4 separate regions of the Homo sapiens genome follow, and regions 1, 2 and 4 are each linked to region 3. The links are contacts of gene promoters, found by promoter capture Hi-C in human tissues and cell types (Jung and others, 2019). All regions are on one chromosome and are shown on one strand. The core of a region is centred on a gene start or on the middle of the fragment in contact, and the rest is flanking DNA. Distances in the headings are between cores, read along the strand shown. Region 1 has its middle 260 kb from the start of MIR5702. Region 2 has its middle 300 kb from the start of MIR5702. Region 3 holds the start of IRS1 (insulin receptor substrate 1). Region 4 has its middle 130 kb from the start of MIR5702.

Evidence for each region. Contacts are between HindIII fragments. The study calls those that stand out against the background at their distance.
Region 1: a fragment that was not itself captured here is called in contact with the fragment with the promoter of IRS1 in region 3 in 1 of the 25 tissues and cell types used here (heart left ventricle).
Region 2: a contact is called between a fragment that was not itself captured here and the fragment with the promoter of IRS1 in region 3, in 1 of the 25 tissues and cell types used here (mesendoderm cells).
Region 4: a fragment that was not itself captured here is called in contact with the fragment with the promoter of IRS1 in region 3 in 1 of the 25 tissues and cell types used here (mesenchymal stem cells).

Annotation. Positions count from the first base shown.
Region 1 is chr2:226,393,349-226,399,329 of GRCh38, forward strand. No RefSeq gene overlaps it. Among named protein-coding and RNA genes, the nearest start is that of MIR5702, 260 kb to the right of the region's middle. The HindIII fragment of the contact is 3,720 bases long and covers 2,364-5,981 here.
Region 2 is chr2:226,352,331-226,358,514 of GRCh38, forward strand. No RefSeq gene overlaps it. Among named protein-coding and RNA genes, the nearest start is that of MIR5702, 300 kb to the right of the region's middle. The HindIII fragment of the contact is 3,567 bases long and covers 2,220-5,786 here.
Region 3 is chr2:226,797,978-226,803,836 of GRCh38, forward strand. IRS1 (insulin receptor substrate 1) reads right to left here and starts at 1,843. Exons shown (of 2, transcript NM_005544.3): 1 at 1-1,843. The coding sequence starts at 761. It also overlaps a transcript of RHBDD1 not described here. RefSeq lists silencers at 662-711, 1,702-2,121, 2,142-2,211, 3,172-3,381. The HindIII fragment of the contact is 12,102 bases long and covers 1-5,859 here.
Region 4 is chr2:226,524,329-226,530,332 of GRCh38, forward strand. No RefSeq gene overlaps it. Among named protein-coding and RNA genes, the nearest start is that of MIR5702, 130 kb to the right of the region's middle. The HindIII fragment of the contact is 4,194 bases long and covers 1,533-5,726 here.

The sequences.
Region 1 (5,981 bases), core at 2,974-5,473, 400 kb before region 3:
ACTTAAGTCCAGAATGTACTTAAAAGCCATCCAAGTCATTAATAAAAGATTAACAACCTGATAAAAAGTAGGCAAAACCTGGAGGGTTAATAAAGGAAGGTATTCTAATGACCCAAGTAGATAGAAAAAGGTACTAACGTCCTTAGTCATCAATGAAATGCAAAATAAAACCACATTTACATGCCACTACACAATCACTGCAATACCTCAAATTAGCAAAACACTGAAATCACCTAATATTGGCTAAGCAATTGGTAATTTCATACTTTGATAGTAGATGTGTAAAATGGCATAACTACTTTGGAAAACCATCTGACAATTTCTTAAAAAGTTATACATACATCCATCATATGACACAGTTAATCTATTCCTAGGTATTTGCACAAGGACAACATATGTCTACAAATGGAATTGAGCCATAATGCTTACAGCAGCTTTATTAATAAGAGTGAAACAAAAGAAACCTTCTAATTCATCAACAGAAAAATGTCAATAAATTGTAAATGATGTATTTGTCACCAATAAAGAAAATGAACTGCTGATAAATAGAACAATATTGGTAAATCTAAAAAATATATATGTCCTGCAAAAGAAGCTGGATGCAAGAGTGCTAACTGAATTAATCCGTTTATACGAAGTTCAACAACACCGAAACGAATCTATGGTGATACAAATCAGAACACTGCTTGCCCACAAGCTGTGGGGGTAGTGGTTGACTGGAATGGGACCTGTGGGAAGTTTCTACAGGGGTGGAAATAGTCTAGGTATTGATTGGGGTGTTAAGTATGCCAATGTTTTACATTTGTCAAAATAATAAATTGTACACATTAAATCTGTGCTTTTCACTATATGCAAATTTTACCCCAACAGGAAAAAATTTTTACTATAGTAACCATTTCACTGTGTATGTGCTTATCAAAACATCATGTTGTGCACCTTAAATATATACAATTTTTAAAAGAAAAAATATTCACTATGTTGCAGAAATAAAAATCACATGTCTGGCAAGGAATGATGGCAGGTCAACAATGACCTGCTTACTATGAAACTTAAAAATGTTCTGTTGGCAACACTATTTGACTTATGAGAGATTGAGACTATGTGTCAAAATCAGAGGAGCCACATAAAAAAAGAAGAAAAAATAATCTAATACAGTAAATGGAAAATTCACAGGCTGTGTTGTTTGATATCTTAAAATGTAGCACTTAACGTGGATGGAATTTGTGAGGTTCTATGTTGATTTGACTTTTGAGTAAGAGGTACTTCTCAGAATGTGCTTAAAGAAATGTAAATTGTATAATGTTTATTATTTCTGTGTAAGAACTTAAGAGATAATACAGTTGCAAAATGGTATTTTTTGGCTGGGTGCAGTGGCTCATGCCTGTGATCCCAGCACTTTGGGAGGCTGAGGTGGGCAGATCACTTGAGGCCAGGAGTTCAAGACCAGCCTGGCCAACATGGCGAAACCCATCTCTACTAAAACTACAGAAAATTCGCCAGGTGTGGTGGCATGCACCTGTAGTCCCAGCTGCTTGAGAGGCTGAGGTATGAGACTCGCTTGAACCCGGCAAGTGGAGGTTGCAGGGAGCCAAGAAGTCACCAGTGAACTCCAGCCTGGGCAACAGAGTAAAACCCTGTCTCAAGAGAAAAGAAAAAGAGATGGTATTTTTTTCAAAATGGTTTTTATTATAATTACTATTGTTATTGTTTGCAAAATAGCAATTAAAAGAAAACATGGATGAAGAGAAAGCAACAATGATATTTGATGAAAATGCCCTTTCCCTTACTTATCTTTCTATAAAGTTATGTTGCACTTTCAGATTTTATTTGTATTCAGAATTTGAGGAGATTTTCTCAGTGGTAACATATTGATAATTGTATGTTTTCATCAATGACAATGCTTTATAATTAAAAATTTACTGGAAAGCTTTTTTTAAAAAATAACATATTTCTCATTTCTAACTATACCATATAAGAAATGATGATTACATATTAGGAGAGGAATTTATCCTCATCTTATTTTCAGCTCCAACAGCTCCTATCTAAGAAAAGCATTAATATCATTGCCATGCTTCTTTAAATTTGTATGTGTGTGCACGTGTGTGTTTCTGTACAAACATGACCCTCTGTTGAGCTCCTTTTATGTGTAACACACTATTCCAAGTTTTTAATCAAATTATCCCATTTCATTCCTAAGAATTCTGAAAGCTGTTTTATCCCTACTTAACACTGGGAACTCAAGCTTGGATAATTTAAATAACAACTCTAATGTCATACATGTGATAACAGATGAAGCTCAAATTTGAATCTGCTTTTATTTGACTCTAAATCCCTTTCATCTAAATTTTCAAATTGTTCTCATACACATAATTTCATTGGAATATCCCAGTATCAATATGAAGCAGAAAAATGAAATAAAATTCTAATCAATGTGGGAATTTGACACACACACACACACACACACACACACGAGAGAAAACTGAAGCTTGATGAGCTTAATTACCTAAGATTTGCTGTGAACCCAGGTCTTATACTCCCAAAACATTTTGATTTTATTAAATACTTTAGAAATTGGAGATTCTTTTATTTTTAAAAGAATAAAACTACACGAAGTAAAATCAAAATCAAACTCCACTATGCAGACATTTTTTATTTCTCTAGATCACCCATGAATCTATCATCCTCCCTATGTCCAAGAAACACGTCTGCCTTACGGAAAAGACTACCTCTCAATACAGAATCTGAGAAGCTATGGCACAGAGTTATAACCCAGGCTCCCGCAATCAGATGAATCTTCCCTGAACTATGAATCTCATGATAAAGATGCAAGAAAACAGACTCCACATAGAATCCATTGTGGTGGACTGGGGACAGGGCAGAAGCAGCAGAATGAGCACCTGCATCCAGTTTGTAGGGACAGAAATGCCCAGAAGGTGTTGATGGCACTGGGCGCCATGATTGTGTGCAGTGGTAATGCTGTAATAGCTTTATGTGTAGTTTAGGGCATTGCTCCTGATTGCATATCCCACAAGTCAGAACTCTGGTCCTCTTGAAGACTTAATGAGCTGTTACGTATTTCCTAACAAATTTCTTTGCTACTTAAATTAGCTCATTTCTGTTGCTTGCCATTAATAACGCTGTCTGATACACCCATGATTACAACAAATTTCTTATGGGAGTCTTATTTGGCTGTTTAAACAGGTATAACTCCTGAGTTTAAATATACATCGGAGTACTCTTTTTAATATTGGTAAGGAAAATGTCTTTGTCACAAGGAGAAAGGAATAAACATATCACAAAGCAGCCAAGTTCTTTAATCTCACAGATCTACTACAGATGTTTAATAAAACTTCTCATCATTCCTTTTGTAAGAGTGTCCTAGCAAATATGTTATTACTACGGGGAAATTTTTAAGCATAAGTGATTGAAATGACTACAGGATTTTCTGGCATCTTGAAAACAGTAACTGCAACCAAAAGTATTTTGAAATTAACAGTAATATCCAGTCACCCTCAGGAAATTCTACTTTTTAATCTTTCACCTTCAAAATTATGACCTTTAGTGTCTGCTCTTTATATGTGGGTGTGTGTTCCTTTGATTTTAATGTTTAATCAGCTTAAGGGATGACTTTCAGTTGGAAATCTGGAATTTTCTCTCTTGATGCTATTAGGATTTTAATTACAAGCTGTATTTTCCAGAATGTCTAGGCCTATAAAAACATTTTTACAATAGTTTTTTCTGGAAAAAAACTAAACATGTTACTAGGAAAATTAATCTTTATTTTGTTGGTGAACAGTAATGTATATACTGTTTTTCTTGAATGAATAAATTAGGAGGCTCCTGGAAATTTCACTGGCTATGAATTACCTTTATCTTCCTCAATAATTTAGCCAAAATTCAATTTTTTAGTTGCTTTATGTCTTCTTGCTTTGTTTAGAAAAAGAAAAAGAAAGAATGAGAAAATGAAGGAATATAGGAAGCCAGTCAGGGTTAGGTAAACTATCCCTTCAAAGTGCCACTGGAGGGCCTGGGAAAGTTTCTGTTCATCTTTGGCTAGACCATGATATCTATAAGACCTTCCTTGTTCCACTATCCTCCATATCTGTGTCTTACCTACCTCTTCACATCCCAGGCAGAATCACTGATTTTGTTCTACCAGCTTTCTATTTTTTTTCTTCCCCATGGCTCTGTTGAATCAAATGACTCTCCCAGTACCTGTACACTTGCACTTGGCCTAGGGACTCACATTCTGCTTAATGTCTTTCCAAATGGGATAGCTGTTTATTCATTTTTGTTGTTGTTCATTTTTTTTCCTTCAATCAAAGTTTCTCATCTACCCACTATGAGCCAAGCATTGTGTAGGTGTTCTACATCCCATGGTGGACAAAATAAACATGGACTTCACTATTACAGAATGTATGACTTAGTAAAGACTTTTAAGTAAAATAACACATAAACAATTATATAGATAGTGGTACCTTCTATGAAGGAAAAGAACAGAGAGCCAAAGAAAAGTTGGAAAATGTATAGTAACAGAGGAAGCTTAATTTATGTTGAAAGATCAGTGAGGATCTATCAGAGGGGGTCACAAGCTAAAACCTGAATGATTAGAAAGGCCCAGCCATACTGTGAGTTAGCCAAGGTGAAGGTCTGCACAGGAACCTTCAATGAGCCAAGAGTTTTGTGCTTTGGGGAACTGAAATAAAGGCAGTGGCTAGAGCAGCAAAATAAATAAGAGTTCAAACTGAAGTTCTAGAGTCCAGCCGGGGCTATACCCTGCATGGTCTTGTAGACAGAAGTTAGGAGTATAAAATTATTCGAAGTATAATAGTAAGCTACAGAATAATTTTGTACAAGCAAGTGACATTATCCAATTAATATTTAAAAGACTATTCACAATGTGGAGAATATGCTTTGAGGGTATCTGCTTTACCTATGAACTCAAAATTTAGTAAGTACAAAAAATTCTATGGACCTGGAGGATTTCTCTTCTCCGACTGCTCTCAGGAGCAACCGTGCAGCAGGTTGTGATACTGGTGCCAGCATGTCATGGCAAATCATCTCAAATGAATCTGTTTTTCTCTCCACTGTCATTTGGAAACTGCTTTTGAGGCCATAATAGCATTTTGAGAAAGAAGTAGCAGTGTGGCAAAATAGGCATTGTGGGATTATTAGCCACCTTGTGCCAACAGGACAAGCTTGAGTCACGTTCCATGAATTCAACTTCTACTTGATGAAGGAGCACCCATGGCAACGCTTGGCTTCATGGCTCAGTCAATCAGATGAATCTGAATGCATGATGGACATAGCTTGGATAGCATGGTCACCTTGCATTTTGTCTCTATGAAGTCCCAGTAACAAGCTAGGGTCTGTCTCCTTTAAAAAACAATTACTTGCTGAGAAAACATGGCTTTGCTCCAAACCTCTGTAGAGCTTGCCACATGCTCAAAACAACAAACATAGTTTCCACAGATACTGTATCAGTTAGGTAAGACCACTGCTATAGCAAATAACTCCCAATTCTCACTAGTTTAACACAATAAAAATTAATTGTTTAATGTCCCACTGCAATGTGAGTTATTTGAGGGCAGTGAGAAGAGAAGACTCTGCTCTAAGCTCCTTTTGCCTCTCACTCCACCACATCCTCAGAGACCTCCTGATTCCAACAGCAGTTAGGGAAAGGGGTTTTGGGAATTTTAGTGGGCTAGACCCATAAGCTATACACATCATTTCTGTTAACCCCACTGGGTGGAACTCAGTCACTTGACTGCACCTAAATTGGAAGGAAGACGGGAACATGTAGTCTAGATGTGTGACCAGGAAGAAGGGAATGTGAAAATGGATGAGCACTAGCAGCCATTTGGCAAATATTTGAGCTCATTAGATCCAATGAGTCATAAAGGAATTGGTGACAACATCTTATTAGGTTCTAATTACATTATTCTTTCTAAACAACTCTGAGCTTTGCCAAGTTAAAAGAC
Region 2 (6,184 bases), core at 2,753-5,252, 440 kb before region 3:
ATTGTAGCCTGAACTCTCAATGGAAGAACTGATCTACACACCTCTATGGTCACTACTGCTAGACCTATCTACATTTATACATCGATCTCTACATCTCCATTTATATCGAAATACGTCTATTTTACCATACTCAAGGTTTATCACAAGAATTCAAAGACATTTATTCATATTAGAAGATATTTTGGTGAAATTCACAAAATTACAAGGTATGGGTGGGGGGCATATAAGTAAACCAAAAAATGGAAACACTTTTTAAATTTCTTTGGTGCTTTTCTGTGTGTTTAAAATTTTCAACATGCAAATCTTTTGGGATTGCATTACAGATTCATAGTTATTTTCAAAGAGAATTAAGAAACTTATCTGCTGGTTTTTTGCATCTAGAAATAATGCTTTCAGAACATGCTGATAATCATATGCTTTGGCCAATCAGACCAATCAAGTGTCCCAGTTCTGTCCAGTTCTACCACATGCACAGTGACATGCCTGCCACTGGATTACTGTCATCTGCATTGCCTCTGTAGTATCCCACCCGTAAAGGATAATGTGCAACTTTTCCAAGGGACTCAGCATGGTCTCTTTCCCTTGGAGCAACAACAGAAAGAGGCATGATAGATAGTATCAAGAAATAGTTACCTACTTTGAATAATCAAGGACTTTATAACCTGAAAGAATATTGCCTTCACATAGACAGTAAGATTTAATTCAGTGTTTTGGAGCCCAGCAAACAAGTTCCCTGAGAGAACGCTTTCTTTAAACACAGCAACTCAGGCAACTTGCACATATATGAACCAAGAAGGCCTGGAACATTCAACAAGCTGGGTACAAGAGGAGCCACAAGAGCAAACTAAGCACACTTAAAAATAACAATACGGATAAGAAGGATAATAATTATAATCTCTCTGGTGAGATAGAAGATCACTGTGACCACCAGACACAATGCCAAATATCCTGTTGGCAGGGTGCTTCCTTGGCCCTTGTGCATTTGTGAGCCCAGAGCCAGGCTGCAGGCAGGCACCAGCCCCAGCTTTCACTTGCTCACCATCAAGTGACTGCCATGAGCTCAGGTTACAAATTTGTTTATATTTAGATGAACAGGTGTGTGGCTCAGTTCTAAATCAAGGCCGTGTCCTGCAGTTGTCATCTTAATGTGCTTCATATAGCTGGAATGATTTAACGTGGAAAAGGGCGACACTCCTACCCTGACTTACGCTTAGGGCTGCACCCAGCTTGTGGAAATTTTGTCATAAATTCTGTTCGAGATTCTGTGCATCATTCCCTCTTTGCATAAATCTGCAAAGGTTTTTTGTACTGGTTGGTGGTTTCCTGCAGGAAAAGGAATGAGAAGCCCAGGTTTCTAATGTGGCTTCATTACAAGAGCAGGTTACCTCTTCCCTCTTACCTTTGCAACCTGGGGATATTTTAAAATTGCCGATTTCCAGTTGGCCCCTCATGAATACACCAAGATTGTTGTGAAACTCAAATGATACCATTTAGGTGACTGTGCTTCATAAACACTAAAGTAGTCCACAAATGCAAAATCATATGATGCATATAAAAGAGCTTTATGAAGCTAAATACACTCTACAGATGCAAACTAGTACAGTGGATGAAAGTGTCCTGCAAGCAACGTTATAAATGTCAGAAACACGAGGGAATTCAAGACCAGGAGTTCTCAAAGATAGTGGCTTTTCAGTCAGCTTCTTCAATTGTCATTTTATTAAGAATGCTGATGAAAATATAACATATAAGGAAGTGGAAACACTGGTTACACTGTAATTATTCTGTTAAGTATTTGAGCTCTGGTACTTACACAGGTTTTCATTCTAAGAATTCCACATACCGGGTGACAGAGATAGGCTGTGTATCATTCTGTAACAACCCTAAAAGAAGTAGCTACAAAGTGGGAGGCTTTTCAATGAGGGAAGGAAAATAAAATTTTGTTCCCATTCAGATTTCACTTCTGTTTATATTATCATAAGGATCATTATGTGTTATTAAAAGTGATATAAGTATTTCATACAAGAAATAATTCTGACTTTTTATAAAGTAGCTTCATCATAGGTATCTCTTAATAAAAAGTTTCCTGTCTACCAAGTGACTCCTTTTGCCCATATTCTAGTGGACCTTCCACTAAATAAGTGAACAAATGCACAAGGATATTGGCCTTCCCAAGCATGCATGACACCATGGGCCTTGGAATGCACTTGAGTTTTTCTTGGTCATTCTATCCTCACTTATGTTTAAAGTCTCCTTAATTGCTCTGAAATACAGGCAAGTAGAGACAGATGTGTCACTACAGATATGCTTACCTAACAGACACAGGATTCCCAGCCTCAGAAAATCCCTGGGAGGGCCTCTAGTTCTCCCCTTCCCCCACAACAGGAAATCTCCCTGCAACTGCCTGGCCATGGCTGCCCTCCAAGTCAGATCTCTACTCAGCCAGGCCCCTGCTTAGTGCTGTGAGCTGCCTGGGGGATCTGGCCCCAGAGTCTTGTGCACTGACCAATCTCCTATGTTTTGGGAGGGTTGGTTGGTTGGTTGGTTGGTTGGTTGGTTGGTTGGTTGGTTTGGTTAGTTGGTTTTGAGATAGAGTCTTGCTCTGCCACCCAGGATAAAGTGCAGTGGCGTGACCTCGGCTCACTGCAACCTCTGTCTCCCAGGTTGAAGCGATTCTCATGTCTTAGCCTCCCAAGTAGCAGAGACTACAGGTGCATGCCACCAAGCCTGGCTACTTTTCTTTTTTTTTTTTTTTTTTTTTGTATTTTTAGTAGAATTGGGGTTTCACCATGTTGGCCAGGCTCGTCTCGAACTCCTGATCTCAAGTGATCCACCCGCCACGGCCTCCCAGCGTCCTGGGATTATAGGCATGAGTCACTGTGCCCAGTCCAATTTCCTCTGTATTTGAGCGAAGCTCAGACTGCAGGTGCTAATCTATTAGAGCCTGTAGAAGTCCTAATTCCTCTGTCTCTCTTTCCTGCTAGGAAGCCCTTGATGTTTTATCATAATGAAAGGGAAGAAATCTCCATTTGCTGCTGCCAACCTGGGCAGTGGCATGTCTAAAATGGTTTCAGTTAGATCTCAGGGATTTGCTTTTAAAGAAGTAAAACATTTCTCCTGCCTACTGTTACTTATCTTTTTAATCCAGAGGTATAAAAATTTTAGATTATTTAAAACAAGTGAGTAATGAAATATGCATTTTAAACAGATCATAACAAACTAAAGAAGGACACTAATGAGACTGATGGCCATCAGTGGAAGATGGTGGGGAAAAATAGAGGTGGGGTGATAGAAGCAGACAAATGGAGACAGTGGAGTGATGGAGAGAGAAGGCCAGCAGAAAGAATAACATGCAAACAGAGGAGGAGGACAGAATGAGAGTGAAGAAAGAAGGAAGGAAAGAAAAGAGGAAGGAGAGGAAAGGAGGAAAGAAGGAAGGAAGGGAAGAAGAGAGGGAGGAAGAAGGTAAAAGCCAACAGAAAGACAGAATTGCAAACAAGGAGGAGGACAGAGAGGGAGTGAAGAAAGGAAGCAAAGAGGATGCAAAGGAAGGAAGGAAGGAAGGAAATAAGGAACAAAGAAAGGAAAGAGAGGAGAGAGAAAGAGAAAGGGAGAAAGGAAGAAAGGAAGGGAAGGAGGGAGGAAGGAAAGAAAGAAGGAAGAAAAAAAGAGACAGAGGGAAGGGGGAGGAGCAAGTTTGAAGTGGGTGATTGGTCAGAGGTAAATTACTTATTAGACTCCAGGTAACTTGCTATAATAATAATTGTTAATAATAACATTTATTGAATGTTTACTATCTCCCAGATACTATTCTAAGTACTTTACATGTAATACTCATTACAACCCTATGAGTTTGACTCAATAATTATAATTTTAGCCATCAGTCTCAGGCATAAGAAAGCCATACCCTAGAACTCTAGGTAATGACTGGCAGAGCCAGGGTTCAAGCTCAGGTAGGCTGGCTTTGTACCTCTTGGCCACTTGTCTCTAGTCCCCTGCAGCTGCCTCTTATTCTCCAGGCTAACCATGCATTGCACTACCACTGAGATTTCCATGAGCCTTGCAGAAGTTGAAAGCAACACTTATCTAGTGGTGTTAGCAGATTGCAAAGTCCATTGTAGAATTTAAGTTTATTTTCTTCAGTGATGTTTCAAAACATACTTTAGAAGTTTACAGATGCTTGGCAATTTTCTAGCTGTTTCAAGTTCCTTCAACAGTTTCAAGATTTTTAATTGCCTTATTGTTTTGCTTAGAGTGATCAGAATTGCTTTATTCCTTGCAAACTAGAGGTTTTAAATAAAACCAGCACTTATTTCTACTTCAGAACAAATTCTTGTTTTGTGGTCTAGTTAAGACTAAGTAGGAAATGTGAGAGAAAAGTTTTTAAAAGCTAGGAATAAATGTTACATGTATATAATAAACGCAACCAGTAAATGTTTAGTGAATAAATGAAATTGATTAAGTATTGCTTGGTAACAGCTTTTAAACTACCTCCAGCAGTTTAAAGAAAACCTGCTACAACCTGTTCTAGAAACGCCTTCTGAAAATACTTGCCAGTAGAATGGTTCCTAATGATTAAGATAAAAGAAGTATCACTTATTTTCTATGAGTCTGCTGAAATTAAGCTTAGCATCCATCCAGGAAAATTGAGTTATTTTAGGTACTTTAAACAGAGGAGCATTAATGGAAGCAATTAATTATTTAAAGAGATGTTGCATAAACATGAGATGCAGGAGCAAAAAGGAAACAGGGCTCATACCCAGAGAGTGAGAACAGATGCCCACCACTGCCCTTGAGCTGCAGTTCACAGGCTACATCCACTGCTGAGCTGTTGGAGTTGCTGTCAGTTTCAAGAAAGCAAGTAGAGCAGGGCAACTGCAGAGCTGAGAAGCCATTTAGATCTCACCTGTATAGAGGGTGTCTAGATGAGTGCATTACTACAGCAAAAGTATATACACACCACCCTTCCATCTACCTAAAACCCCTTGGTTGGACCTTTTAAGTAGCCTGTACACACCAATTGTTCTCCAGAAAATAAAAAATAGAAGGCATGCAGGAATTTGGTGAAGGGCATTTTATAATTGTCTAGGTACTTAAAAATAAAACTAGGGAGCGTTTTTCACTGCCTACAGGAGTTTTTAAATATGTTTTCTTGTCTATTCTATGTTTGATTTTTAACATTGTCAACATTAATTTTTTTTTGCCTTAACCTTAACAACCACTTTTCAAATTTGGTGACTTACCACATTTTCCTTCATCTTATACAGAGAATAATACTTACCTGCCCTTTAAATGGATTATGAAAGTAATTATTGAGTGAGGGGTATTAAGCTGTTAGGAAAGAGTTTATTAAAGAACAATTCTGATTGTAAAGTGCCACCAAGACTCTAAGAATATCATACTAAGTCACTTAATGCAGTCAGAGATGATGTTCACATGTTTTATGATAGCTCTTACAGATAGCAGTTATTTCAAGGAGATTGCTTTATTCTGAACCCTTCAGCCGATTTTGAGGTTGATGGCATTTAATTTTATGTATGTATTCAGAGAGAAATGAAATGGCTTGATGGTGACATACATTTCAGGATTTCTCTTTTATTGGATTGAAAAGCAGGTACTTAGACTTGCATTAACGTTTGAAGCAAAGAAAGCTAGGATCGGCCCAAGTTTCATGTTAGGAAAAACAGCGACACTTTGGAAATTAATTAAGCTTATCTGGAACTCCAGCTGCATTACATTAAATTTGATCAAATGCTGAATGTCATCTGCAGTCAAGCTAATTTCACTAAGGGCCAAGAAGATGGTGTTACATTGAGGCGGGGCTAGTCAAGTGAATCTTGTCCATCAGCACAGTGGGGAATCTGCTAAGCTTATAGATTTAAAATCCTCAAAACAATTTCCCTCTCCTTAGAGGTTTTCCTAAATGCATGTGGATTTGGGCTGAGATTCCTCCCCGCTGGATCCACTAAAAAGACTTTTCCTCTCTCTTGTTGACAGTTCTCAACCTGTACATAAAATACATTCAAGAAAGTGTGATGTGAAGGGTTAGGTTAGTTCATGGATCATGGCATTTAAGAGGAAGAATCACCCTTGAAAGGTTAAGTTCAGGATTTGCTTGCACGTGTGAGATAAATATTGACTAGTAATCAGGAAGTAGGCAACATTAGTAAGATTATTTTTAAAATAA
Region 3 (5,859 bases), core at 593-3,092:
AGGATGGTCTCGTGCATGTTCTGGGCCACCACAGAGTCATCCACCTGCATCCAGAACTCCCCGGGCCCCGTCACGGCAGAACGGCCCACCTCGATGAAGAAGAAGTTTTCCGAGTGGCCACAGCGCCTGATGTTCATCAGCTGCAGCACCACGGCCGCTGCCTCCGAGTTCAGCTTCACGAAGCTGATGGTCTTGCTGGTCAGGCAAAGGCGGTAGATACCAATCAGGTTCTTTGTCTGACCCAGGCCCTTGGGCTTCAGGATCACTTGCCAGACCTCTTTGAATGCGGGTCCTGGGGGCACGTCACCGTAGCTCAAGTCCTCCCCAGCCTCACCAAGGCCGGAGCTGCCGCTGCAGCTGCCCCCACCACCTCCCGCCCCGAGGGCCGCAGCTCCGTCGTGGTGGCCCTTAGCACGGTTGTGCAGCTGTAGGAGAGCCTGGTACCAGCTGTCTTGCTCGGCCTCGCTGTCCGCCGCGATGGCAAAGTGCTCGTCCCGGGTGTAGAGAGCCACCAGGTGCTTGTTCTTGGAGTCAGCCCGCTTGTTGATGTTGAAGCAGCTCTCAAGGGGGATCGAGCGTTTGGGGGCGCTCGACTTGTGCCGCCACTTCTTCTCGTTCTCGTAGTACTCGAGGCGCGCCGGGCCCCCAGCCTCGCTGGCCGCGCGCAGTACGAAGAAGCGTTTGTGCATGCTCTTGGGTTTGCGCAGGTAGCCCACCTTGCGCACGTCCGAGAAGCCATCGCTCTCCGGAGGGCTCGCCATGCTGCCACCGCCACCACCAACGCTGAGCAGAGGGAGGCTCCGAAAAACAACCGGGTGGGGGGCGGAGGCTCCTCGCCGCGGCCCGGCACATGCAAACAGGGCTGGAGGCAGCAGAAACCCCGACTCTGAAATCCACGCCGCCCCCCGCGCCGGGGAGGGGCAGCTGAAGGAGGACGCAGCTGCTGAGCCCAGGAGAGAGCCCGACCGGAGTTTTCGGGCGCTTCACGCCCGGCGGGGAGGCAGTGCGTCCGGGGTGAGGGCAGCCCCGATCCTCCGAGAGCCAAGTCTCCTCTCAGCCGCCGCCGCCACCAGGAAGGAGCGAAGATGCATCTCTCGTCGCCCCGGCTGGAGTCCGGCACAGGGAGGCGACAGTCGGGGGTCCCTGCGGTGCCCCTCCAGGAGCGCGCGCGCGCGCGCGCCTTCCCTCCTGAGTTCCCCTCTGGAAGCAGCGATTCCCGAGGCAAATTAAATATCCTTGGGCAGGGGGAGGCGGGTTGCCAAGTCCCAACGTTGCACGGGGTTCTCCCTCCTCCTTCGCCTCCTCCCACCCCCCAACCGTCCCAGCCGCCACCAGCCGCCCAAATACCAGCTCAGTCGCAGAGACCGCGGCGCTGCGGCTGTTGCTGTTGCTGCTGCTGCTGCTGCTGCTGCTGCCGCCGCCCGCGGGCGCGTCCTCTGCAGCCCCCATCCGGGCCCATCTCGGCGGGTGGAGAAAGTGGCTTTTCCATGCGAAACGATACCGGGCAGCCACTGCAGCTGGGGACCGGCCGGAGGGACAGACTCATCCCTGCCCCTCGCTCCAGGCGGCTGGGGAGGAGGGGAGGGGACAAGGGCGAGAGGGGATGGGGGAGGTTTGGGAAGGGTTCGGGGAAGACGCCTGTTCCTCGGGAGGCGCTGCCGCTGCAGTTACTTCTCCCCTCCTCCCTCCTCCTCCTCCTCCTCGGAGAGTTGCCGAGAGCCCCAACCAAAACAAGCGGCGGCGTCTGGCTCTGCGCGCCGGCCCCCTCCGACCGCGCCGCCGTCTCACTCGGAGGAGAAAAACACGTGACGGAGCCTCCGCGCTCGGCAGCCGGGCAGCCGCCGCCGGGAGGCTCCCGCCCGGGTCTCTACATTCCGGGCCGAGCCCGCCCCGCGCCCGCCCCTCTCCGCCCCCCAGCCGTGCTGCAGCGGCGCCCGCGCCGACCCCGGCGCAGCGCTAGGACAGCGCCCCTGCGCGGCCGCCAGCTCCGGCGCAGCGCCTCCCTACACGCGCGCCAACCGGGGCGCCCCCGGCCCGCAGGAATCCCCGCGGCGGGCGCAGGCGGGGGTGTTTGGGTGGCTACCCGAAAGCACGAGGGGAGTCTGGGAAAACGGGAGGGGGCGAGCTCGGGAAGACGCAGGAGTGAGGGTGGGGGGCCACGGGGGGGCACTGCGGCTACAGAGCCCCGAGTGGGAGGCCGGGGGGAGGCGGGGGCGCCGGAGCTGGGCTGCCTCTTACCTATCAGGTAAGACTGACCCACGGGAGGGAGGTTTCTAGTCAAGGCTGTTTCCCCCAGGAAATTTAAAAGCTAGATTTCGGCTTCAGGGCGATAGGCCATGGTGAGGGGATCTGTATTTTTTAAGGTTTTTCTAAAGGACTTCTGGGCCAGCCTTCCACCTTGGGATCCCCAGATTTGCTGCCGTGAGGTACCTGGAAGGAACAGAGGGACGCCCAAGGGCAGTGACTGGGGGCAGTTATGGTCACTACAAAAGGAGAACAGGGATCCCCAGGAAGTGTCTCACGTCCGGCGCTGTGGAATTAGTTGCTGATCAAGTAGGGAGAAAATGTAAATATCACCTTTTCTCCTGCTCCCCTTGCCCATCCGTGTGACGGGGGGACTCACACCTAAGGCTGAGGGCATGGGGGAGGGGAAATGAGAGGTCCCTTATCATATTCCGAAGTCTATCCGTGACTTTAAAAAGCTGTTAGGGACCTTCAGAGGGTTCATAAGGCCAAAACCCTACTGTGCAAATATTGGCTGAAATGTTTGTTTCACACACAGCTCCCACACCCATTGAACCACCCTATAAGTTTTTAACCTTGACCACAAGGATAACAGGGAGAAAACAAGGATGGTGCCAGCTCAACTGTACAGGAAAATGGTTACTTCATGAGTGGACCAGATCAGCAGCCTGGGTCTACTTGAAGCGCCCCTTTCAGGGTCACCTTGCGGTATCAGTCTCCCCACAAACAAACGCTCCCCAGAGTTTTTTTATTTTTTAAGCCGACCTATAAACAAGCAGTTTGTCCCTGCTTGCTCGCCTGGCACTAAGGACCCACAGAGATGTCACTCGGTTTAATGCTGTCTCATTTTGATGCCTGGCCCGTTTGGGGTTGCCGCCCCTTTACTACGCCGGGACCCTCCTCGGCCTCAGGCTCCCAGGCACTGCAGGATGCTGGCTGGGCACTCAGCAGTCGAGGCGCTGGGCATGCTCAGTGGCTGGGACCCGGCGGGCCGCGGGGGAGCGCGCCTCGGCCCAATGCGGCTGAGGGGCGGAGCGAGTTTCCCGGGGAGGCCTGCTGATTGGTGGGATGGCCTGTTTTTCAAGCCTTGCACTGCAGAGGGAAGGTGGGGGTAGAAGGGTTGAGGGTACCAAGGTAGGTTGCAAAGCGTAGTAAAAAAAGAAAAAGAAGATGATGATGATGAAGGAGAAAAAGAACCATAGGCGCCATTCAGGGGTGTGCGATACGTAAATTAGGGGGATTGGGCATCTGCAGAGGGGCTCCTCCCCACCCAAGCCTGGGAGCCTCTCGTTTCTCCTCTCCCCTTCCTGTTCCCGGTCGTCATGCAGCCTCATCTAAACCTGGTTAATCTATAATTTGAGTACACATGTTGAATTGAAAGCCCTCCCTTCTTTTCCTCTGACAGCTTGGTGATGTGGGCACACGTGCCCACTACAGCAAGGCTATTAATAGCAGATATTTGGAAATGGAAGCGAGGCGGCACTCACAGTGACCGAAATTCTGGGGGTATAGAGTGCCTTACAGGGGGTAGGGCAGGGAGGTGCAGAATAAAGAAGCCTGAAGTTGGTGGAAAAGTGTAACTGTGTGCCTGGTTTTACCCTAGACAAGAAAAAAGAGAGATTATAAAAGGGTTGTTTACTAGTAACAATGTAATCCAGATAAGGCCAAAGGGCTTTTCACAGGTTTGATGTTTAGCGCTGGGATGGGGGTAGTGGAGTAATTAACATTTTGTAAGACAACAAATCAAATCCATGGACATTTACTTTTCAAATGGCCCTGTCCCTACCTCCGTCCCTCCACCCCCCACCCCCCAAAAAAAGCTAAATAAAGGTACTGTACCTCTATGGGGGAAAAATACTCTTTTCTGGAAGGAGGGGAGGGTTGGAAAATTTATTTGCACGTACCTCACAATTATCTTCATAGGAAGGATTTTGATCATAAAAAGCTAATTATGATAATAAACCTTTTAAAAAATATATCTCTCAGTGTTAAAGCATTTCTGCTTTAAAAAACACAATTTCAGTTGCTAAATATTCGATAAAAATTATGAAATAAGCCTCACTGCTGTGACAAATTATGTTCAGACCAATGGGTTTCCTATGGAAGATAATCACTGATCATAGGATATTAGTGCCATTTTTTCTACTTGCTGATGTTTTACTACCAATTTAAAGGTGGTTAATATTTGTTATAATTATACTACAGTAAATTCAATTGTTCTCTACAATTGTTTTATTAATGGGCTAACTGGAAATTCATTTACATTTGGTTCATGTAATATATAGAATAGAAAGAGACGCGTTTGTGGGAACTCACTGAAGTAATGCTGAGCAGGTATGGGTATTATTCTGTCACCTAAGCTAAATTAGTCTTTTGGTGTATTGTAATGAAATACACTGTATGAAAAATTTACTCCCCACTGAAAATTCACGGAACAGAAGAACAAGCTATTACCAAAATCTGTTGCTCAATGCTGCCATCTATAGGAGAGTTAGAGCCGATTTGTGTAATATGCTAAGGTTCATTTTAAAAGAGGGCTAAAATAGTGATTTCATCACAACATTGCAACAGCTACGTTGATGTCACTAATACAGTCCTAATTCAAGGAGTTAAGGGTTTACATGCTATGGACGCACTTTGGGGCAATAGGTCTACAACTAGCTTTAAAATTGAGTTATTGGTTTATGTATGATACTATCAGGAAAATAATGCAAAATTTATAGATTATTACATATATCTGTAAAGTGCTTGAGTTGGGTGGATGTAAAACTAAACATTTCAAAATTATAAAACACTTTTTGTATCAAAACATATGTTTTCCTTAAGATGTATGGGTCATAACTGGAGGAGCTATTTAAATACTGGCGTCTCTTAGAATTAATTTTGGCAATTTAGAACAGTGCTTGAAGGACAATTGAATGTGGATTTTCTCACTTTAAGATCTGTTTTTATTTTAAGATGGCTCAATAGTAATAAGCATTTGAATGCTTACTCTGCAAGGCAATATGAAATAGATAAAAAGACAGCTTCTTACAGCTTTGATGGGGTAATAAGAGAGTACAAAATAACAATAGTTGATGACTAAAATGTGTGTGTGTGTGTGTGTGTGTGTGAGAGAGAGAGAGAGAGATGTCAAATAACAAGTGGTATTTACTTTCATGATGGATGAAATAACTACTTAATTTTTACAGAAGAGAGGAGCCTTAAGCTTGAACTTGAAATGGGCTATAACTCAGATAAATGGCAATTATTTTTTCCCACTCAAGTTTTTTGGAACACCTACTTGTGTTAGGCACTAGGCTGGACACTGAGGATTTAGATATCAAAGACATGCTGCCCACAGGAAACTTACATCGAAAATGGCAGATGAACACAATTGCAGAGCACTATGATCTCTTTTGTGGAAAAAATAGGCACAGGGCAAATGAGATCACATAACAACCAACTGCCTTCTGACATAAACATTATCAGTTACAGACAGTGCAATTTGGGAATCTGAAAGGTGCCTCTTCCCTTAAAAACTTTGTTTTCTCATGTAATTAAAATCTTTCATCTGTTTTATTTAAAAATATATAAAATAGGCCAATTAAAAGAGAGCTGAAAAGTCACACTTGG
Region 4 (6,004 bases), core at 2,380-4,879, 270 kb before region 3:
TGATGCCTGCATTCTTCCTGGGGTTTCTGTGACAAAGGACCACGAAGTGCCTGGCCTAAAATAACAAAAAAGTATCTCACAATTCAGGACACTAGAAGTTCGAAATCAAGATGTCAGCAGGGCTGAGCTCTCTCCAAAACCTCTGTGGGAGGATCCTTCCTTGTCTCTTTCAGCTTCTGGTAGCCCTAGGCATTCCTTGACTGGTGGCTACACAACTCCATATCTGCTTCCATCATCACATGGCTGTCTCCTTCTGTCTCTGTTTTCGCTTCTTTCAAGAACAGTCACACTGGATTACAGCCCACACTAATGACCTCATCTTAACTTGATTACATCTGCAAAGAACTTATTTCCAAATAAGGTCACATTCACAAGTACCAGAGGTTAAGATTTCAACATATCTTTTTGGAGGACACAATTTCACTCATAACAATGACTAGGACCTTTAGTACATTTATCTCATCACTTAGAGAATCTGGATAAAGGGATATCAGAATTTTGCCTTCCAGTAAATCAGATAAAGTGTGCCATCCATGGAGAGGATACAGTGAGGGAGAAGAGAAGAGCAGAGACCTTCAATAAAGATAGGTTCTTATTCTATGAGCAATACTCAAAGAAAGCAAGATTTAAAAAGAAGCACAGTTAATTTTAACCTTAAAATGAATGAACAAGGATTTACTGGGACAGTTTTGACATCACCTCTGTGTTCATTTAACACTTTATGTGTCAATCTAACTATGAATATAAGTTATTTAATATGCCAAAATAAATTTGCATGTTTCCCTCATATATAAAATTATGTTCACCTGAAGGAAACAGCTGATTGATGGTTAAATATTAAACATGCAAGAAAAGAGAAAATATGTTCAATAATCATAATTTAAAAATGCAGGTTGAAAAAAAATGCTTTTGCCTATCAAATTTTGTTGTTGTTGTTGTTTGAGATGGAGTCTCCCTCTGTCGCCAGGCAGGAGTGCAGCGGCACGACCTAGGCTTACTGCAACCTCCACCTCCTGGGTTCAAGCTGTTCTCCTGCCTCAGCCTCCCAAGTAGCTGGGACTACAGATGCCTGCCACCATGCCCAGCTAATTTTTGTATTTTTAGTAGAGACGGGGTTTCACCATATTGGCCAGGATGGTCTTGATCTCCTGACCTCATGATCTGGCCGCCTCGGCCTCCCAAAGTGCTGGGATTACAGGTATAAGCCACTGCACCCGGCCAAATTGGATATTTTTATGCCCATCAAACTGGTAAAAAAACTTTAAGAACTCCATAGTATGCATTGTTATTAAGGTTGGTGCAAAAGTAATTGCAGTTTTTGCCGTTGAAAGTGATACAAATTAGTGATACAAGTGATACAAGATCGAGCCACTGCACTCCAGCTGGGCGACAGAGCGAGACTCTGTCTCAAAAAAAAAAAAAATCAACTTCAGAAAAATAAAGAAAGAAGTATTCACATCTGGCAAAGTAGCATCAAAGTGGACTTCCAACTCTTACTTTAGCAAAAGAAGATCTGACTTAGGGCACATTAGGGGCTTTTTGCAGGAATGGAGCCTAGTTTCAGTAAAAACTTTTAGATATCTGTGTTTGGACATAGATCTCACAACTTAAATATAAAATATTTAGCCAATTTGGCCCAAATGGTTATAATAAAATCATGAAATCCTAATTAATTGGTCTTTCAAAAGACCAATGAATTAACTACAGTTGTACAAAGACACTACTTTATTCTCTATTAGTCTTTTATTTCTTTAAAATCAAAGAACAGAATCACCATAAATGAGAAAGCAGCATCCATTTTTGACTTGTGTATTAGGCAGGCCCCACAAAAACATCATAAAGGAGTAAGGTATAAGATGTTATTCCAAAAGTCTTCTGTTGTTTCATGTCGTATATTTAGAGCAATAAACATTGTTTTGTCTATTTTGAGGTTTGATTTCTCTCCTAGAAAATATGATATTTCATTAAACCAGTATGTGTTCATGGTTTCTTTTCATCTCTTTTTAAATCTCCTCCAGTCATTAAGTTGCCCAGAAGCCTTTCCAGATAAGAAAGCAAAGGATATTTGAAAATAACATAAAACCAGACCAAATTCCTATGCACTAAAAAACCTAGGAACGCATAAATTATATAAATTGTGTGTTCTTGTTACACACAGTTAAAATTACTGTCGGTGCCAGCTGTCTTTACATCAGAGAGGATATTTTGATCTCTGCTGAGCCCTATCTGTGTAATTATTTAACATTGTTCTTTAGCCCTCTCAACTTCCATTTATCAGTGCCAACATCCAGGGTGCCTTCCAGAAAAGAGTAAAACAGTTGATTTTGTTTTTCTGATTTATTTATTAAGACTTTCATATTAATGCCCAAAATATTATACAATATGCAAAACTATTTAAATCTATAAGTTATGTTAACACAAATTAAAACCAAAACAAAATGTATCAAAATTGAGTCAGAGTACAAATAGGACATAGGACTATGATGTGTATTATTTAGACTGAAGCTGACTTTGCAGGAAGCCAAAACATCCAGTTGATTCAATTAAAGAAAAGAGAAACTCAGTTGATCCAGATGTCTGGCATCATAAAATCCAAACACAGGAATGATTGATTGAATCTTTGACGTGATTCACCAGATGTTTTAGCCTCTTGGAGACAGACTAAAAGGAAAGGATTCGGATGGGTTTCAAATTCCTTCATTTCTCCCTGGGTACCCAGTGTGAATCTTCTTTGTTTACAATTTAGTTACCTTCTCCAACTACTCCCTGAACCGTTTAGTAATGTTATCTCACATTCTTATTCAGACTGAATCTTGGGATATTCCAATCAAGTAACAGATTCAGAACCAAGTGGCAATATATAAACATTCTGGTTTCCTTTCTTTCTAAATATATAGATAGCTTCATGATTTCTTTTTTTTTTTCCTCTGGAAAGACCACATGTAAAATCTAATAGGATCAGCTGACATGATAGGTCCAGGAGAAAAATAGTTGGCCCTTGAACACCATGGGTTAAAGCATCTCAATTCCACTTATACATGTTGAGATAGCAAGACCAACCCCCACCTCCTTCTCCTCCCTGGCCTACTCAATGTGAAGACTACAAGGATGAAGACCTTTATGATGATAAACTTCCACTTAATGAACAGTAAATATATTATCTCTTATGATTTTAACATTTCTTTTCTCCAGCTTACTTTATTGTAAGAATATAGTACATAATACATATAACACACAAAATATTTATTCATAAACATTTATGTTATTGGGAAGGCTTCTGGTCAACAGCAGGCCATTTGTAGTTAAGTTCTGGGAATGTCAAAAGTATGTTACATGTGGATTTTCAACTGCACAGGGTGGTTGGCACCCGTAACTCTCATGTTGTTCAAATGTCAAATGTATTCTTGAGAGGCATTATTAGCTTGATTTCTCTGCAGTGTGAACATTGGCTGTTCAGATTGCCTATAATCAGCTTACTTCATATTAAATCACTAATGAGTTGATGGGGAGATAAACTCTCTCTCAAAGGAAATAAATTAGAAACTGACAATTACAGAAACAAAGAGAAGTGAATGTAAGAGGGTCTCTTCATAGAACCACCCATGGGATGAGGAGGTTTGCCTGAATTCTGAATTGTAAAAGCCCAGCTCTTATTTGGAGCATGCTAAAGGGCAGAAGCCACCCAGGGTGTAGGCAGAAAGATTCCATCCTGTGTGTAACAATTTGAAAGAAAGAAAATTGATGATTCTATTATATCCCCACCTTTGGCCTGAATTTCCCATCCCTGAGAGCAATGTGACGACAACGCTCACGTTATATAGCTGGGTACAGCGTCCCGTGCATTCTTTCAATTGATTAGCTTAATAATTCTTTAAGAAATGTATTTTTAACCCCATTTCACTTAAAAAGATAAAGGTTTGCCTAAGGACACACAACAGTGAGCCATGATCCAGGACACAGATATTCCAACTGCTAGTCTTACTCAGTACCACGACTGACTCTGCAAATTAGTTATAAAAGAAACATTGAGACTTGTTCCAGGAAGACACTAGGTAAAATACACACCCAAGAAGTTTCTTTCCCAGAACATTATGAACATAGCACCCAAGAGTTTTATTTATCAGATTAGTCAGTCAACACCTTGAACTTTAAAGGAGGTAAACACAGAACAAGCCTACTTGGGATCCAAAAACTACTATAAAATCTCATGTATTTGAAGATAAACTTTGCTGAGCCAAACTTATAATTATGAACTCAAATATTCTGGAAAACAAATTTTAAAACATTTCTGCCCCAAAGAGCAATATACTGAGGGAAAAGCCCATGGTATTTCTTCTCTCTCTGAATTTCTAGAATTCTGTTATCTAGTTAGGTTTTAACGTGCCATATAATGTCTATTCCTAGAAGGCATGCTGCCTGAAGATATATTTTGATGTTCTAAGTTAAATTGCAAAGAGTAACAGCAGTGTAGGGGATATGTAATCTATGGGCTTTATCCTGCCTGAAAGGGCCCCAGATTCAACACTCTACCACTGATTTCATCTGCTTTCTCAGTCAACATCTTTTTAAAGCACTGTATCCTCAGCCAACCATCAAACTTCTTAGCTTTTTCACCCATAATCAACCCATCTCAAAAATCACCACCATCACTGAAGCTTTGAGAAGAAAAATCTCCTCTTTGGTGAACACTTTTGTTTACCCAGCATCATTTTGTTTTTGTTTGTTAACAAGTGTTGCTCCTCCACTTGGCCAGGTATTTATGATTTGATTCTACTCCCCTCTCCTGGCATAAGGCTAAACACATGGCTAAATTCAACCAATCAGAGAATAGCGTTCTCAAGTCAAGCAATTGGTTTTGGCAAGGACTTTGATCCATACCGAGCCAAAGAGTGTCCGTCCAAGGGCTTTTGCTGGCACTATCAGAGAGGAGGGTTTCTCTCTTCTCTGGTGTCAATAACTATAAGGAAAACATGTCTAGGAAAGAGAATGTGAAACATACCTGAGGAAAAGCCAATAAAGTGGAAAACAGAGCTGAAGATGGAACGAAAAACATCATCTGACCTCCCAGCCCACCTATCCCTAAAAGATATCACAACTACCTTTGATTCTTCAGTTACATACATGAGACCATAAATGCATTTTCTTTTCCTTAGGGTACTGTGAGTTGGGCTTCAAATTTTTATAATCAAGACTTCTGTCCAACATACTCTTCAACCTAACCTTTAAGCATTCCCAGTACTCAAATTCCTGAACTCTTTAAATTATAGTGAGGCCAAACTCATTTTAAACAATGGAGCTTTGGAATCACAGGACTTTTAATTGACATGGCAGCCATGAAAATGTGACTCGATCTATCACAATAAGGAAAGTACTTGATTGATGTCTCCAGCTGCAATGTCCAGAATCTACCACCACTTTTGATCCAAAGCCTTGCTTCTCACAAGCTGCTCCCAGCCAATGACTGAATGACACAGGGCTACTTAGTAAGCCACTCTTACTAGAGGTGGAACAGCTCCGAAGAGTGGCATTGGTTGGAGAGCTCACTGTCACCCTAGTCCTAGGCTTTCTGGCTTTTATTCCTAAACAGTCATACTGATTTCTATTACAGATGGTTACAAACTGTGTTTTCCACCAGAAAATGGCAATGTTGTTCCAAAGGCAAAATAGAGCAAAACATAATGACTAATGAAGGGGCCATTTGTTGTTATCTCTAGGGGTTCAATGCCAAAATGCAAGAAGGAAAAAGAGAGCTACTGCAGGTATTCTGCAAGAGGTGAAAACAACTTCTGCCTTTTCCCCTGTCTTATTGCCTTCTTTGTTTTCTTTTTTTTTTTTTTTCACTCAGTGTGGTGGCAGGAGCAGGTTCAAGCTACATGTGAAGAGGTAATAAATGTCATGTTAACAGCATGCTTCCAAAGAGGGCTTTATTTCATGACTACCCACTTATGCAAAACACATGGACTTCACCTTGCCCTATAGAAATGTTTTTCATTCCACATTTATA